Regions from separate parts of the Homo sapiens genome. Here region 2 is linked to region 1. The links are contacts of gene promoters, found by promoter capture Hi-C in blood cells and fetal thymus (Javierre and others, 2016). All regions are on one chromosome and are shown on one strand. Each heading gives the region's core, a stretch centred on a gene start or on the middle of the fragment in contact. The rest is flanking DNA. Distances are from core to core; before and after follow the strand shown. Region 1 holds the start of ZNF772 (zinc finger protein 772). Region 2 holds the start of ZNF256 (zinc finger protein 256).

Region 1 (2,700 bases), core at 57-2,556:
TTTTCTTTGCCTCACTTCTTCCACTTATTTTACTATTATTTTACCTTTCTATTGATTATTTATTTATATTCCAAACATTTCCTCTTCTAGTTTGAAAAGTATATACGCTGACTGTATTTATTATATTTAGGCTAAAAATTACAAACGTTTAACACATTAGCGTGCCATACAGGATTGTAATACATTTGCTTTCCACTTGGAAATATAAAAAATTTAAAACTTTGAGCAACTAGCCTCCTTTCAATTTATATGTAGTTGAGGTTACGCACGGGAATTCCATCATTCTAACTCAATAAGTATATCTACTTATGTTTTACACTGTAATATGCTGTTATTTTAATCAAAAGATGCACTTCTTTTCATCTTCATTTCTTCTCTCATTGCAGACTTTTCACCTGAGATCAACTTTCTTTGGCCTTGAGTATTATTTTAAACATTATTTTTTGTGTAAATGTATTTCCATTACATTTATCATTTTTGGTTTCAAATAGTTTTATATCACACTTCCATAAAAGACATTTTGTTGTGTATAGACATCTAGTTTGGTGGTTATTTCTTCTTTACAGAAAGTGTTCATGTTGCCCTTTTCATTGCCATATGACATTTGATGAATTCTGTCTTTTCAGACACTTGTAAAACACTTAAAATATTGAATACATCTCTGTATATGGAGTATGAAATACTATCTTGAACAAGAGTATTACTTGTTGGGTTTGACACAATCACTGCTGTATAAGCAGGATAAATATTTTCTGAGGTAACAGACAGAAGGGTTATTCACTTACTTCAAGGCCACCAAACATCCCCACTCCACGTTCCACATCATGGTGTCTGGAGTCTTTTCTTTCTTGTGCCTGACAGAAAATGCTGAGGCTCGCCAAACTAACTCTGGAGCATCAGGCTACACGCATTTGAAAACAATATTTGTTAACTTCCAGCCATAGAAATCTGAGTGACGTCAGTGTATGGTGTGTCCATTTTATTTTTTGATGAGCATTCTCTGCGTAAGGAAGGCTGAAATCATGTCTCTAAACATTCCTTTGATGTCAAACACGACGTTCACCAGAAATACAGATATGGCTCCTTCAAGAGGAAGCTAAGCTCCGTCTGGGCCTTGGAGACGAGGGACACCATTTCCACGCGCCCCTGGCGGTCTTCTCTGGGCTTTTAACCTGGAGGTGAAGCGAGACGCCGCTTACTAGTGTTGGTGCCGTGGGAACTACATTACCCAGGAAACTTGGCGGCTCTGGGCCAATGAAAACCCAGGAAATAGGCGTTTCCGTTGGTCCTCACCAACGTCAGGGCGGGACTTCCTCTACCATCCTCGGGTGGACATTTTGTTTGCTTTTCCATTAATCCACTGGTTTAGTTTCCAGAACGCAATGTCAGACCTGAGGTGACAGAAAAGGGAAAACGTGAGAGAGTGTCTTCTTCCCTGAAGAGAGGTGGGCCTGAGGCTTGACAGTGGCGCTGCCTGAGTGACCTAGCCGCTGGGCTGGGCCCTGGACAGCTGATCCCAGGTTCCTGCACTTGTCGCCACCCTTCCGTAGTCCACAGGCCTGATGGCGGCGGCTGAGCCGATGGGCCCGGCACAGGTGGGTGCTGCGTCTGCGAGTCTGCGCGCTGACCCCCATCTCTGAATCCCAAAGCTTCGAATGAACGATTCCTCGGGTTACTGCAGCTCAGGCCCCTGTATCTAGAACAGTGGGGGCGCTCGTGTTTGGGACCCATTTTGACAGCACGAGTTGAAGGACGTTCCAGGCAGAGAGACCAGTGTATGCAAAGGCTCAGAGATGGTTCACAGCTGGAGCATTTGGGAAAACTGGGCCTTTAGTGTCTGAAAGGATCAGAGCGCTTTATAAGTGATTGCACCTGGAATATCATCCTGAGCAGCTGGGTCTCTATTCTGAGGGTGATGGGAGCCATGGAAGGTTCTGAACAGAGGAGAGCCAGAATCCGAGGGTTTAAAAAGTATTCCATAGACTGCTCATGGAGGGCAGACTCTTGTTGGCCATGGGGGCGGATAATGAGCACTGTTCCGAGCTAACACAGTTAAGAGGTATCCTTGAAGATGGAAGCACAGAGGGTAGACATTCAGCTCCCAGGCACATTGTAACTGGGTAGGAATATGGGATGGGGTTGAGCCTTTGGGGTTCCTTCAAGATTGCTTGACTCGCATAGTCTCCCTCTTCCCCACAGGTTCCCATGAACTCAGAAGTAATTGTGGACCCTATACAGGTGAGGGGAGAATGTCCATGCTCTCACCGATCCCACCCCCACCCAATACGCTCTCCAGCATTGTGGTGTTATATAGAACACTCTCCTGCTACTCTCCGATCTCTTGGGTCTGAGGACTCTGGAGAAGCCCCAAGCCCAGGGTCCTGACTCCGGGCCAGGGGTTTTATGGAGGGGTTTCCATTTCTGCCAACCATTGGAATAAGGTTGGAAGGTTGTTCCAGGCACAGGAACCAGCCTGTGCAAAATACTTAGAGGTGAGACTGAGAAGGGAGTTTTCAAGAAATTGCAGGTCTCTGTCATGTCTGGTGGGAACCAAGAGCAAGGGGGCGGGAATCATCCTGAAATGGCTTAAAGATGATTATGTAGATTGGGAGTTAAAAGAGAATATTCATTTCACAGTGGTAGTGCATTTAGTGAGCCAGGAAAGTGATGGTGGAGAGCCAGAGTTGTGAGATAACTGTG
Region 2 (2,700 bases), core at 58-2,557, 470 kb before region 1:
GCTACTTGGGAAGCTGAGGCAGGAGAATCGCTTGAACCCGGGAGACAGAGGTTGTGGTGAGCCGAGATCGCACCATTGCACTCCAGCCTGGGCAACAAGAGCGTAACTAATGGGGGCAAAGATAATCATTTCAGCGTTGAGAAGAGATCTTGAATTTAAGATACACCCTACATTTGGGATTCAGAGCACCCTTTGTTCCACCTGTTAATGCTCTAGCTAGCCATCATGCCTTTTCAAAATACCATTCCTTTTGTTGTTCTCTTTCTGAGCTTGATGTCAAATTATTAAAAAGAAGTGAATATAAAGGCATGGAGAAAGTGAGATTAGATTCATGCAAGTGTTGCTTAGTGAATTGGACACAATGTTTGACTACACAGGCACGAGAGGGACCCAGAGACAGGGATCTACTTATGTCCTGCTGCTGCAGGGTGCCTCCGCATCCCACCTTCATCCTCTTTGTCATGAACCTGTGTGGAGTGTTTTTTTTCTTGTCCCTAATCAAACATACAGAGACTGAGAAAACTGACTCCAGTGCTTGAGTGCATGCGTTTGAATTGCAACATAGTCTTTTTTTTTTTTTTTTTTTTTTTTTTTTTTTGAGACAGTGGCTCGCTCTTTCCCCCAGGCTGGAGTGCAGTGGCGCGATCTCGGCTCACTGCAAGCTCTGCCTCCCGGGTTCAAGCTATTTTCCTGCCTCAGCCTCCGGAGTAGCTGGGGACTACAGGCGCCCGCCACCACACCCAGCTAATTTTTCTTTTTTTTTTTTTTTTTGTGGTATTTTTTGTATTTTAGAGACGGGGTTTCGCTGAGTTAGCCAGGATGGTCTCGATCTCCTGACCTCGTGATCCGCCCGCCTCGACCTCCCAAAGTGCTGGAATTACAGGCGTGAGCCACCGCGCCCGGCCGCAACATAGTCATATTTATTTGCTTTCTCAACCAGTGGATATATTTTGTGACTGACTGACTGTATGTAATAATATGTGCATCTGGATATGTGCCTCTGGGAACACATGAAATGACACGTCTCCAAACAAACACTGGCAGACAGCAATCGGTAGAAACCTGGGTACGTCTCCTTTAAGAAAGAACGAAGCCTCGCCTCCGCCCCAACCTGGAGTGTCCATTTCCCAGCGCCCCCTACAGGGGTTTGGCCTTTACTTCCGGAAGGAGGTGGAGGCGACCCTCACTCTCCCGCCGTGCGCCTGTGGGAACATTACCCAGAATGGCCTGCGTTGGGCGACGGCGACCTTCAGCCAATGAGGCCTCCGAAAGGTGGTGTTTCCGTAAGCGCACGCGCGGTCGCGGCGGGACTTCCGTTGTCCTCCTTGTGGCGGTCGTTTTGGCATTTGTCTGGACTGATTACTTGGTAGAAAGCCCCGGAGCGCTGGGTCAGCATCATCCGTGACTGACTGAGAAGGCGCGAGAGGAGTCTTCCCCGCTGCACAGAGGCGTGGCTGAGGCTCGGCGGCGCCCAGGGTACCCAGGCCCGGCCCGGAATAAGGACATCCTCTCTGGCCCCGCTCCGCTCACAGAGTCAGATGGCGGCGGCCGAGCTGACGGCCCCGGCCCAGGTATGTGCCGCGTCCTCTGGGCCTTCCCCGCCCTCCCCACGCTAGTCCTAGCACCCCCGAGGGCGCTTGCTCGCGGCCCTGCTGCCCAGGACAGGACACGGGGGCTCGCCGGAGGGGCTCCCGTTTCCAACACCTGGTGTGCTAGGGAAGGGAGGGCGCGACTGGCAAGGAGCCCCTGATGAGAGGCGCCACTGAGCCCTGGGGCACAGAGGTGACACAGCCATTGCGAGGGCACCCGGCTCCAAGGCCAGGCATGGGGCTACGGGGTGGCTTGAGCCCATCTAATACCGCCATAGATGCTCTTCTCTGAGGCCTGGCTCTTTCTACGTTTCCCTTGGCTGTAAAGGGTTATGAAATCTACGCCAGGAAGGGGAGGGTTTCCCAGTCTCTCACTAGCCCTAACTCCCACCCACAGGTTCTCTGGGTTGTGGAGTGCCATTCCCCCAGCCCTTAGTTCTGAAGACCTTGGGTGAACCCCAAGCCCAGGGTCCTATGTCCATGTTAGCCGGTATATAGAGTTGTTCCAATTTCTGGCAGCCATGTGAACGGGTGTGGAAAGTTTTTCCAGAAAGGTACAAGATGTGCAAATGCTTAGGTGCAGTACGGAGCTGGGTGCATTTATGAAGCCACAAGTCTCCTTGCTTTCTGGTGGGAAGCAAAGAACAGGAGGATAGGCGTCAGGACTGCAGTGGCTGCCTGAGAAGTTGAGTGTGTTTTCAGGAGGTAATAGCAAGTTTGAATCAGAAAAAAGAGGTAATTTACCAAGGTCTTCACAGGCTTCATCTGTGTGCACAGTGGGGCACAAACTGGGGGGTTGAGGGAGGAGGAAGGAAAATCAGGGTAGACTAGTCCAAGTGAGGGTTACTGGCCCAGGATCGTGATTTAGGAGATGTGGTTAGATTCCGGATGTGTGGTTTCAAAAGGGACAACTAAATTACATAATGTAGGTGGTGAGGGAGTGAAACAGAGGGTTCAGAGAAGACTCCAGGGTTTTTGGTATTAGCAGCTGTAGGGAAAGAAGTTTCATCAACTAAGATGAACAAATTGGCAATAGGAGTAATATTCACTAGGGATATCAGGTTTGTTTATGCCATGCTAAGAGTCAGATCTTTCAGAGCCTACTAAATGG

The links. The method cuts DNA at HindIII sites, captures the fragments that hold promoters and counts their contacts. A CHiCAGO score of 5 or more calls a contact.
Region 2: a contact is called between the fragment with the promoter of ZNF256 here and the fragment with the promoter of ZNF772 in region 1, in 12 of 17 cell types (erythroblasts, fetal thymus, non-activated CD4 T cells and 9 more). The highest score is 10.0, in erythroblasts.

What each region holds. Positions count from the first base shown.
Region 1 is chr19:57,476,172-57,478,871 of GRCh38, reverse strand. ZNF772 (zinc finger protein 772) reads left to right here and starts at 1,306. Exons shown (of 4, transcript NM_001144068.2): 1 at 1,306-1,595; 2 at 2,200-2,238. The coding sequence starts at 1,563. RefSeq lists enhancers at 792-1,991, 1,582-2,105. The HindIII fragment of the contact is 1,804 bases long and covers 1-1,651 here.
Region 2 is chr19:57,946,313-57,949,012 of GRCh38, reverse strand. ZNF256 (zinc finger protein 256) reads left to right here and starts at 1,307. Exons shown (of 3, transcript NM_005773.3): 1 at 1,307-1,571. The coding sequence starts at 1,539. RefSeq lists enhancers at 1,069-1,158, 1,229-1,328, 1,819-1,898. The HindIII fragment of the contact is 12,388 bases long and covers 1-2,700 here.